2 separate regions of the Homo sapiens genome follow, and region 1 is linked to region 2. The links are contacts of gene promoters, found by promoter capture Hi-C in blood cells and fetal thymus (Javierre and others, 2016). All regions are on one chromosome and are shown on one strand. The core of a region is centred on a gene start or on the middle of the fragment in contact, and the rest is flanking DNA. Distances in the headings are between cores, read along the strand shown. Region 1 overlaps FNBP1 (formin binding protein 1). Region 2 holds the start of C9orf78 (chromosome 9 open reading frame 78).

What was found. The method cuts DNA at HindIII sites, captures the fragments that hold promoters and counts their contacts. A CHiCAGO score of 5 or more calls a contact.
Region 1: a fragment that was not itself captured here is called in contact with the fragment with the promoter of C9orf78 in region 2 in 5 of 17 cell types (total CD8 T cells, naive CD8 T cells, total CD4 T cells and 2 more); the score reaches 7.7 in total CD8 T cells.

What each region holds. Positions count from the first base shown.
Region 1 is chr9:129,974,917-129,981,287 of GRCh38, forward strand. It overlaps FNBP1 (formin binding protein 1), which reads right to left. Exons shown (of 17, transcript NM_015033.3): 3 at 4,402-4,458; 4 at 3,549-3,696. Among named protein-coding and RNA genes, the nearest start is that of FNBP1, 65 kb to the right of the region's middle. The HindIII fragment of the contact is 1,917 bases long and covers 1,761-3,677 here.
Region 2 is chr9:129,831,141-129,836,989 of GRCh38, forward strand. It overlaps C9orf78 (chromosome 9 open reading frame 78), which reads right to left and starts at 4,135. Exons shown (of 9, transcript NM_016520.3): 1 at 3,999-4,135; 2 at 3,567-3,626; 3 at 2,518-2,569; 4 at 2,307-2,377; 5 at 756-833. The coding sequence starts at 4,081. It overlaps USP20 (ubiquitin specific peptidase 20), which reads left to right and starts at 4,318. Exons shown (of 26, transcript NM_001110303.4): 1 at 4,318-4,359. RefSeq lists silencers at 4,067-4,416, 4,447-4,596 and an enhancer at 4,568-5,068. The HindIII fragment of the contact is 4,419 bases long and covers 2,289-5,849 here.

The DNA.
Region 1 (6,371 bases), core at 1,469-3,968, 140 kb after region 2:
ATATTAAAATAGTACAAACAGGTCAGGTGCAGTGGCTCACGCCTGTAATCCCAGCACTTTGGGAGGTCAAGGCAGGCGGATCACCTGAGCTCAGGATTTCGAGACCAGCCTGGCCAACATGATGAAACTCCATCTCTACTAAAAATACAAAAATCAGCCGGGCATGGTAGGGGGTACCTGTAATCCCAGATACTCAGGAGGCTGAGGCAGGAGAATCACTGGAACCCAGAAGGCGGAGGCTGCAGTAAGCCGAGTTTGTGCAACTGCACTCCAGCCCGGGCAACAGAGCGAGACTCCGTCTCAAACAAAATTAAATAAATAAATTAAATAGCACAAATACACACATTTGCTTACTGATATTTGTTCTAATATTTCAAAAGGTTTCATGATTTTCTAAAATGTCATTTTAATTTAATAACAGAATGTTTCAAAAGAGCATGATGTTTACAGCTCCTCCCAACAGAACATCTGACTCAGAAACCTGTACTTGCAGTTCTTCTTAAAATAAAAGGAACACTATGTATTGCAAGATATTTAATGTGTATCTGTACCACCTATAATTTATTCCATAAATTACTGTAATTTTTGATTAACAAAAGGAACTAAATCCGAAATACAGATATGACAGACTATAAAAAAGTCATCATTAACAGTGAGTAAATAAAATATAAAACAACTTGACCATAACACAGCAAAGGAATACGAGGGGGCACGGTGGCTCACGCTTGTAATCCCAGCAGTTTGGGAGGCCAAGACGGGTGGATCATTTGAGGTCAGGAGTGCGAGACCAGCCTGGCCAACATGGTGAAACCCTATCTCTACCAAAAATATAAAAAATTAGCCGGATATAGTGGCATGTGCCTGTAATCCCAGCTACTTGGGAGGCTGAGGCAGGAGAATCGCTTGAACCTGGGAGGTGGAGGTTGTGGTTAGGCGAGATCGTGCCACTGCACTCCAGTCTGGGCAACACAGTGAGACTCCATCTTAAAAAAAAAAAAAAAAAAAAAAGGAGAGAGACAAAGCATTGACAAAAGAAACAACCAGGAAAAAAATATAAACCTTTGCAAGGTCAAGGGAAGTTCAGGGTCCAGGGAAGCAGTCCAGGATCATGTTAAGATTTCTGGTATTTATTTTATTATATTAGATATTTGTACTTCATTCTGAACCTTAGTATTCTGTTTCACTGCATCCTTTCTGTCACTAAAGAAATCTTTAATGAATGGTCCAGCAGAAACTGTCATCTAATTTAGGGCTCCAGTGCAGGGTTTCTCACTCTCAGCACTATAGACATTTTGGGCCAGGTCATTCTTCGTTGGGGAGCTGTCCTGTATATTGTAGGAGGCTTAGCTGCCTCCCTGGCCTCTTCTCTCTAGATACCAGTAGCAACCCCTTAGCCACAATCCCTGAGACAACCAAAAGTGTCTCCAGACACTGATAAATGTGGCTGGAGTAGGGAGTAAAACTGTCCCTAGTTGAGAACCACTGTGCTAATGTCAACAGATGAAGATTCATCTCAGTTTATTGGCATATTGTTGTTTTAAACCAATGGGTTGATCTTAAGGCATTTATCTCTTCCTAACTTTTAAACCTATCCAAGGCCATATGCTACACATTTATAGTTTAGAAAGAACTAAATTGAGACATTTTCAAACACCTTCCTGCCCAAGCGCCCTGGCTGCTCTCTATTGAATGCTTGTCCCAGGCAGGTCCTAATCATCCCTCAAGTCTTGTTAAGGCCTTAACTGCGAAGTCCCTTGGGAAGCTTCTTCCTGACCCCAGAGCATGAGCATATCAGAAATCCTATTATATGCTCTCATAGCACGTTCTACTCTTACTTTGTGGCAACTACCATAATTGCAATTAAATAATCACTTTTGTCATTATTACTTAATGTCTCCTCCATTTCAGCAGAAGCCATAGTAATCTTGTTGGCTCATGTATCCCCAGGGCATTAAAAGAACTGTTGTGGCTGGGCTCGGTGGCTCACGCCTGTAATCCCAGCACTTTGGGAGGCCAAGGCGGGTAGATCACGGTGGTCTGAGGAGTTTGAGACCAGCCCGACCAATATGGTGAAACCCCATCTCTACGAAAAATACAAAAAATTAGCTGGGCATGGTGGCGGGCACCTGTAATCTCAGCTACTGAGGGAGGAGAATCGCTTGAACCCGGGGGGCGGAGGTTTCAGGGAGTCGAGATCGCACCACTTCACTCGGGCCTGGACCAAAGGGTGAAACTCCGTCTCAAAAAAAAAAAAAATGTTATCACTGGCCAACGTGATTACTTTATTACTAGTAACAAATTTTTCCGCACTTCACATGCAATCGAAGTACAATGATACAGACCATGGCTTAAAGATAAATCCCTTAAGGCAAAATCATGACTAAGAATAGACTTTGAGCATCCATTTTTCTCTTTGGTTACCAACAAAACCTATTTATGAAAAGACGATAATGGTGGCAAGAGGAACAATAAGGTTTGCTTCATTAGATAGCAATGAATGAGCTGAGGAAAAGAATGGATGTAACTGGGGACATCTTTCCATTTTTTTGACCTACTTACAAGCACTAATTTTTTTTTTTTTTTTTTCTTTTTGAGGTGGAGTTTTGCTCTTGTCACCCAGGCTGGAGTGCAATGGCGAGATCTCGGCTCACTGCAACCTCCACCTCCTGGGTTCAAGCAATTCTCGTGCTTCAGACCCCCAAGTAGCTGGGGTTATGGGTACCCGTCACCACGCCCAGCTAGTTTTTATATTTTTAGTAGAGAAGGGGTTTCACCATGTTGACCAGCCTGATCGCGAACTCCTTAGCTCAGGTGATCCATCTGCCTAGGCTTCCCAAAGTGCTGGGATTACAGGCGTGAGCCACCATGCCCGACTGATAAGTACTAATTTTAATACCATTTATTCCACAGAGCATACACCATATTATATTACTTACTTGTTTTTTAAATGTCTGATACCCTGAAATATATTTAAATTCCTCAAAGGGATGCATATTCCTTTGAATATGGGTCCACAGATGAGTTTCAGAGTGTCTGAAGGACCCTTGACATTTTACGTAGAGACCTAGAAACACTTTCTAGGAACAGGGTCTGTAACTTTTTTTCTTTTTTTTTTTCTTTTTGAGACGGAGTCTTGCTCTGTCGCCCAGGTTGGAGCACAGGTGCAAAATCTCGGCTCACTGCAACCTCCGCCTCCCAGGTTCAAGCGTTTCTCCTGCCTCAGCCTCCTGAGTAGCTGGGATTACAGCCACATGCCACCACGCCTGGCTAATTTTTGTATTTTTAGTAGAGATGGGGTTTCGCCATGTTGGTCAGGCTGGTCTCAAACTCCTCACTTTGTGATCCGCCTGCCTCGGCCTCCCAAAGTCCTGGGATTACAGGCATGAGCCACCGTGCCCAGCTGGGGTCCATAACTTTTATATGATTCTCAAAGGTATGAGTTTAAGACCCATAGTCTTATATGGTTTTATTTAATTTTAATCTTCTAGGGATATTCCCACTGTGTTTGGTCCATCTTTTAGGAAGAAAAAGAATAAAGTTTTGCTTACTGATTTCCTCTCCTGTTTCAGTTCCTGAACATAGCGTGCCAAGTCCACAATGATCTGTGATGCCATGTTCTCGGAGATAACTTCATGCTGCCCTGCGTAATCATTCATTTCGTTCAGGTTGGAAATGAAAGCTTTACATGACGTATACCTATGGAACAGAACACACGCCACTCTGTTTCACACAAGGCCACATTCATTCATATTCTGCTTTACACCAAGAAAATATTAATTAAAATCAGGTTAATTGGCATCCACCTCCCATAGGATCCTGAGTATTCATTACACATCAAGTGTTCTCAACAAAATGGCTCAGAATTAATTACAATTGAAACACTTTTCATTTTGCAAAACTGAACCGCTCCGCATAATGTAATATTTGGCTTCATTGATACTTAGTCAAGATATAATCCAAAATTCATATACATGCTATATGTACTAATGTAAAGGATATTTAGATATACATTAGAGATGTAATATTTGAGTGGTCTGTGTTAAGATGCCTTAATTGCTGACTGAAATTGACATATTTCTTGGATGAATGACTAGCATGACAGGGACTCCTGACAGTGCCAAACCAAATCAACTCTAGAATGCAGATTCCATACTTCCTGTTTTTGCTTAATTACATTCTAAAGTTTTCCTAATTACTTTAATTGAAACAATCTGGCATAGGTCCAGTGACTCCATATAAGAAAAGTTAATTATGTTTTTATTGTTCTCTCCTCCAATTTAAAAACTGACACAAAATGAATGGGAAATGCAACTTATTTTTATAGACATGTATTTCTCCTTTCCGTGTGTAGTCATCAATGGCATGTGTCTATTACAAGACAATTTTCAATGGTAAACATACTTGTATTCTTCTTCCTCCTTCGAGTTCTTTTTAGGTTGGTACTTCTTTGAAAGATTCCTGAAATAAAAATGCAGACATGTCAGCTTTATATAGAAAGAGAATTAAGAAATCAGGAATGAAAGATAACATTAGTGCTTTTGTTACAAGTTTAAAACAAACAAAAAAAGTCCACAGCTGAAATCCATTTCCTTCAATCTTTCAACATGTGTGATGAAGCTACTGTTATTAAGAACGTGCACAGCTTTTCATCTTTTGTCTCAAAGCAGAGCAAATAAGAACAGAATTATTTAATTGGAGAGGACAGACCATGTGTAAATATGCAGTGGCTTTCTTTTTTTTTGAGACGGAGTCTCATTCTGTTGCCCAGGCTGGAATGCGGTAGCGTGATCTCAGCTCATTGCAACTTCTGCCTCCCGGGTTCAAGCGATTCTCCTGCCTCAGCCTCCCAAGTAGCTGGGACTACAGGTGCACGCCACCACATCTGGCTAATTTTTTTTGTATTTTTAGTAGAGATGGGGTGTCATCATGTTGGTCAGGCTAGTCTCGAACTCCAGACCTCAAATGATCTGCCTGCCTTGGCCTCCCAAAGTGCTGGGATCACAGGTGTGAGCCACGGTGCCCGGCTGTGCAGTGGCTTTCATTTGTAGCACTGAGCTGTTTTTCTTCTCAGGCCACCATTCTCTCGTGGTCATCCTGAGTTGGGGCATTATTTCTTCAAATCCAAGGAAAACTGTGTCCAAATGTTTAAAAATCAGAGTGCCGGCCGGGCACAGTGGCTCACGCCTGTAATCCCAGTACTTTGGAGGCCGTGGCAGACAGATCACCTGAGGTTGGAAGTTCGAGACTGGCCTGACCAACATGGAGAAACCCCGTCCCTACTAAAAAATACAAAATTAGCTGGGCATGGTGGCGCATGCCTGTAATCCCAGCTACTCAGGAGGCTGAGGCAGAAGAATCGCTTGAACCCGGGAGGAGGAGGTTTCGGTGAGCCGAGATCGCACCATTGCACTCCAGCCTGGGCAACAAGAGCGAAACTCCATCTCCAAAAAAAAAAAAAAAATCAGAGTGCCAAGGGCATGTTTCTAAGGCTGTGTGGCTGCTCTACCAGCGAGCGCATGAAAACCACCTGTGAATAAATCTTCTTGAAGGAAGTCAAGACAATATTTTGGGGGTGTTGATGCTAAGACATTTAACTAGAAAAACTTTTAACCTGCCTAGCAGGTTTGCATTGAACACATTCAGATTAGCCAAAATCATCCTAGTTTCCCTTCCTAATCTCATCTCCATGTTAAGAATCTAAATATTTTTCTTTATATTCACAAATAGACACAAAAACTAAGAGGTAATCACAGAAAAAAAAAAAAAAAAAAACCCTCACTAACACTGGTTCTACTGACTGATTTCTCCTGGGTCCTGACTTTAGGTGACTATAGTTAGAGAAATAGCCATAGCAGCCAGGCACGGTGGCTCATGCCTGTAATCCCAGCACTTTGGGAGGCTGAGGCGGGTGGATCACGAGGTCAGGAGATCGAGACCATCCTGGCTAACATGGTGAAACCCCGTCTCTACTAAAAATACAAAAAATTAGCTGGGCATGGTGGCAGGCGCCTGTAGTCCCAGCTACTCGGGAGGCTGAGGTAGGAGAATGGCATGAATCCAGGAGGCGGAGCTTGCAGTGAGCTGAGATCGCGCCACTGCACTCCAGCCTGGGCAACAGAGCGAGACTCCGTCTCAAAAAAAAAAAAAAAAAGAGAAATAGCCATAGCATGTTTTCTTGTTTGTTTGTTTGAGACAGAGTTTCACTCTTGTTTCCCAGGCTGGAGTGCAGTGGCATGATCTTGGCTCACTACAACCTCCACCTCCTGGGTTCAAGTGATTCTCCTGCCTCGCCTCCCGAGTACCTGGGATTGCAGGCATACACCACCACGCCCAGATAATTTTTGTGCTTTTTAGTAGAGACGGGGTTTCAC
Region 2 (5,849 bases), core at 2,885-5,384:
CCCAACACTGGCCCGCAGACCAGTGACAGTCCATGGAGAAACGAGAAAAAAAATAACTTGAGTTTTTTCATCAAGTTAGAAATTTTCTAAAGAAGCACCAACCTATGAGGTTATGTCCCACTAATCTATTGGTGTTATGATGTACAAGGTTCTTTGAAGACAGAAAGATGATAGTTTGCCAATAGCTTTGTTGGCAAAATAAAAAGTGGGCAAGCCCATGTTTTATCCCTGCAATGTTTTGGGGAAATATTACTAGTCATGAAACCACCTTTGAAAACAAGTTTTTATTTTTTATATTTTGGAGACGGAGTTTCACTCTTGTTGCCCAGGCTGGAGTGCAATGGCGAGATCTTGGCTCGCCGCAAGCTCTGCCTCCCAGGTTCAAGCAATTCTCCTGCCTCAGCCTCCCGAGTAGCTGGGATTACAGGTGCCCACTACCACACCCAGCTAATTTTGTATTTTCAGTAGGGACGGGGTTTCTCCATGTTGGTCAGTCTGGTCTCGAACTCCCCACCTCAGATGATCCACCTGCCTCGGCCTCCCAAAGTGCTGGGACTACAGGTGAGAGCTACCGTGCCCGGCCTGAAAAGACCTTTTAAGAGGTTTTCAAAGTTCTTAAGCTGGGAAGTAGAAAGAGAGGGGCCAACTTTGACATCTTCTAGAAAATTCTAGAAATGTCATCTGTTGACTAAATATCTTGGACTCTGACTGGAGTCCAGCCCCAACTGCTCACAGCCAAACAGACTGACACTTACATGTCTGCATCCTCATCCCTTCGGTTGGTTTCTGCAGAAAACGATGTCCCCAGGTGCAGGTCCTCCTCCTCACTGATCCTGGAGGGAGAGAACAATGAGGCAGAGCTTTCAAGTCACAACTCAATGAGGCTGAGTTTTATGTTCTAAGAAGAAAACAAAGACATAAGCATTTATAATATCCTATTTACAGTTGGCAAAAAAAAAAAAATGCCGTAGTATATGTAAAGAAAAGAAACTCTAGAAATATATGCAAGCAAACTGTTGGCTGCTAGTGATACCTCCAAGGATTGAGTGGATACACTTATCCTTAGGTATCCATGGGGGATTGGTTCTAGTGTCCCTCAAGGATACCAAAATCTGCAGATAGTGAAGTCCCTTACATAAAATAGTATAATATCTGCATCTAACCTACACACACACTACCATCTGCTTTAAATCATCTCTAGATTACTTATAATACCAAATACAATGTAAATGCTATATAGTTGTCACAAAAGTACACAGTAAACTTTTATTTTTTTAATTTTTGAATTATTTGAATGTTTGATTTATTAATTTATTGAGACGGAGTCTCACTCTGTCACCCAGGCTGAAGTGCAGTGGCGCAATCTCAGCTCACTGCAACCTCTGCCTCCCGAGTTCAAGCAATTCTCCTGCCTCACCCTCCTGAGTAGCTGGGATTACGGGTGCCCACCACAATGCCCGGCTAACTTTTGTATTTTTAATAGCGACAGTGTTTCACCATGTTGGTCAGGCTGGTCTCGAACTCCTGACCTCAGGTAATCCGCCTGCCTCAGCCTCCTGAAGTGCTGGCATTACAGGCATGAGCCACCGCAGCTGGCCTGAATTTATTATTTTTGTTAATTGTTTTTATATGAAACTTCCCCATAGGTTCACTTATTTTATTTTTTTGAGACAGGGTCTTTCTCTGTCACCCAGGCTGGAGTGCAGTGGTGTGATCGCGGCTCACTCTAGCCTCAACCTCCCTGACTCAAGTGATTCTCCCACTTTAATTTCCTGAATAGCTGGGACTACAGGCACATGCCACCACACCCAGATATATACACACACATATATATATGCGTGTGTGTATATATATATATGTGTGTGTGTGTGTGTGTATATGTGTATATACATGTGTGTATATACATATGTGTATATGTGTGTACATATGTGTGTGTGTGTGTGTGTGTGTATACATACACACTTTTTTTTTTTTTTGTAGAGACAGGGGTCTCACTATGTTGCCCAGGCTGGTCTTAAACTCCTGGACTCAAGCTAACCTCAGCCTCCCAAAGTGTTGGGATTATAGGCATGAGTCATCACGCCTACAATACACTCTTACAAAAGGAGTCTACCAACTTGGCTCTAAGTTAACTTTTAAAGACTTTTTGCTTTCTTTGTTTTTAAATAACACACCCTTTGCAAAGCACAAAACCTGCTTCAAGATGTCCTACTAATGCTGCTGCTACAGGCCCCAGCTCTCTGAGGGAACCTAGACCCAGGCAGCCGCTAAAGGTGAATTTGCATCTAAGCTTGTCCTGAACTTACTTATCTTTGCCCCTTTCCTTCAGTTTCTTCATATCCACCATACCACCTGTCTTCATCTGAAAGGGATCATCCTGCAGAAAGCAAACACAGTTAAGAGGAAGCATCTAAATACATGGTAGTGGAATTTTTTTTTTTGTGAAGCACGCTCACTCACTGAAGAGCACTGCAGGGAGGGCTGCCATAACTACTCAGGGAAGACCCCATAACTTACCACTAGAGTGGTCTCCTCTTGTACCTTCTCTCCCACCAGCAAGGCCACAGCACTGAGCAAAACCAAAAAAAAAAGAGAGGGGGAGAGAGAGAAATGGCATAATTCAGAGATAAGGAGGAACCCTCTCAGGTATGCGGATTGCAACATTAGTGCAAGGGTGGGATTTGAGGGGTGGGTAGGCAAGCCGGCTGGAAAAGCCTATAAGCATAAGACAGGGCTCAACGAGCACCGCAGATGCTGGAAGAAGGGTGCGCTGGTGGTGAAGTGGTACACTTTGCCACTTTCCTGTAAAGCCATTTGGCATTATCTTGGCCTGGAAATCTCATTTCTAAGATATTCTCATCATGGAAAGTGCAGCTAAAGATAAATTTAAGAGAATATCCACTGCAGCCTTATTTGATAGTAAAAATTTACAAAATCACCTACATGTCCCAAAATAGGGGATTTGTTAACAAATTACAATACACACATCTGGTGGAATATTATGCAGCCATTAAGGCTTTCTGAAAAATATTCCACAATATGGGTGAATGCCCACAATGTCATAATGAGTTGAAAAGAACAGGGAATAAAAGTACATAGAAAGTTGTTCACAATCTGAGAGAGAGAGACGAAAAAAAACAGATTGGAAAGAGTATTCAATATTAATACCAGTGCATTCTTGGGTGGCTCTGCAAGGAAAAAAAATGTTAACACTGATCATTTCCGGATGGGAGAATTATGGGTGCTTTTTATCGTCTTGACTATACTTTTCTAAATTATACAAACTCTTAACGATCGATATGCATTTCACAATTAATTGGTTTTAATAAAAAACGCGAGTTAGTGATCTGTTTCTGTATCTCTGGAGCACACCCCGAGACGACACAGCTCAGGGCATGTCCTGGTTAAACATTTGCAAAGAACGCTGTTCTCCAAGTTGGGCAGTGGAAGGTGTACAGTGTGTCAAGAGAAAAATCTACGTCTGAGGAGATATTTGTGACAGCGACCCGGACGCGGATGTGTCTGTCGTCCCCGCCGCCTCCTCCTCCTCCCCGCGTGGTACCCACCTCACCCCGTTGGGCCTCTTCCTCAAGTTCTGTACCTCTCTGGTCTCTTCCAGTTTTAATCTTTAAAAAGAAGAAGAAGCAGCAATGCATAAGCTGAGTGATTCCCCGCGGAATCCAAAGCTAACAGAGCCAATAAGGCACCTTCGAGGGCATCCCAGCCCAGCTACTGAGCCACCAGCACAGTGGTCCAGAGGACGACCTTGTGCCTAGACCCACCGGGAGTCAGAGCCACTGCGCATCCCGGAGGCATCTCTCTCAACCGTTCGAGCTTGGGGCGGTGGCCTCACCCCTTGAGCCTCAATTTCTGCGTCCGCAGAAGGAACCACCACCCGAGCTCACAGTTAACAATGTCAGCGAAGCGCCGAGCCGGTGGTGAGTCCCCCAAACAAGTCTATCTTTACCAAGCCTATGGGAGCCCCGCCCCAAACGCACCGAACCTCCTCTGAGTCCTGCTCATCTTCCTCTGACTCCGAGTCGCCCCGGCGGCGACGGAAAATCTTCCGGACGACCGGCATGGTGACAACGGCCGAGTTGTACAGCCGCCGCGCCTCTGCGCAGCGGCCCAGGCTGCTTCCGGCGCGCGGCAGAGCGGTCAGAGCGCCTGCCCCGTCTGGCCCCGCCCCCGGCACGCACAGTCCGCGTGGCCACGCCCCCTCTCCTGGCGTCAGCCTCTTCCGATTGGACGGCAGAGGGAAGGAGGTGGGGCGTCGCCAGACGGCCCCACAACCCTGCGCGTCGCCTCAGAGGGGGCGCGCTTGACTGACAGGCGGCGGCGGCGCAGTTGCGAGTGCAGGTGAGTTCCGGGCCGCCACCGGCTGCTTCTGTGGGCCGGGCCTCTGAGCATTGGCGACCCCAGCCCGGCTCCGGGCTGACAGGGCCTGGCTTCGCCAGGTACGCCAGACGCAGCGGCCCGGTGAGCGGAGCCCGGGACCCCCCCGGCCGCCGCCGCCCCTCTCCCCTCCTCCGGTCGGCGCCCAGGGGGGCCTCTGGGCCCCAGCACCACCCCACTCTGAGCTCCCTGGGGGCTCGTGGCTTCTCCAGAACCGGGGCCGCCCCCCTCTCATTTCTGCCGGGGCCTGACCTAGCGTTGAAAGCATCCGCGTGGCGTCTCGCGTCTCGGGCGCTGACTTTTCTTTCCTCGGGCTCTGAGCCCTGACGTGCGTTTTTTTCTTTCGGAACAAAAGATGACCACTTCTCTGCGGTGCTGACTTAGAGTCCCAGCGCCGACTGCCTCACAAATAATGGCCCCCAGCTTCTCCGCGAGGAGAGGCGCGTCTGATGTTTTGAAGCCACGCAAGAGGGTTTGAGCCGGGGGACTCCTCCTCGGTGCTTGCCGGCCACCCCCCTGGACCTTCACGGGTCTGGTTTTCCTCCTTCGGCAGGTCTGTCGCTCTACCCTCTGCCCCTTCCACCCCGAAGATGCTGTGAGGATAAAGTTTATTTGAAAAACTGGTATCAGCAAACGCTTAGGAAATACCTAAATGCATAAATAATGGCTTCTAGGACTTTTAAGAACCCCTTAAGTAACAGTAGTTTTCCTTTTCTCAGTGTCATCCCTTACTTTGAGAACTACCTCTTATTAAGCAGTTACTATGTGGCAGGCCCTGGGCAAAGCATCATCTCATTGAATTCTCCCAGCAATCCTTTGAGGTAGATTGTTTTTCGTTTTACAAATGAGAATGCGGAGTCTCCGAGGGGCAGTGCACGCCTCAAGTTACCCAGCTAGGAGGTGGAACAGGAATTGGTTGCAGGTCAGTCTCTGCCGCACGGTTTGCACAGGGCCTGGCACGGTAGGAGTGCAGTAGATGTTTGCTGCTGCTGCAGCTGCTGTTACATCTCATTGGCTAGGGGGAGGGGCCGATGGGGGCTGTCTGGGGTTCCCCTTTCTGGAAGACCATTCCGAAGCAGGGCAGCATTTCTAGAATGCCTTACGTTTTCTCTGGAACAGTCTCCACTGAGATTGTTCTTCTCTTCCTTGGGCTGGAAAAAATAGTAGACTCGGGACTTCTTGCACCAGCGTTTTATCTTTGGTCAAAAGCCATATATTAAAGTCTCAAAGTCTTGCCCTCTGCAGACTGGTTCAGCCAAACCCAGATGCACGTGCACTCACTGGATACGGAGTCCCTGTCAGATGATGGAGAGGCTCCTTGGGAATTGCTGCAGGAGTCCAGGGGGTCAACGTCTGCAGCTCTCACGCTCTCAGAGGTGGCTCTGAATCTGCCCATCAAGCAGCCCATCCACCAGGGGGTACTGGACACTACTAAGGAAAGGGCAAGAAGGCCA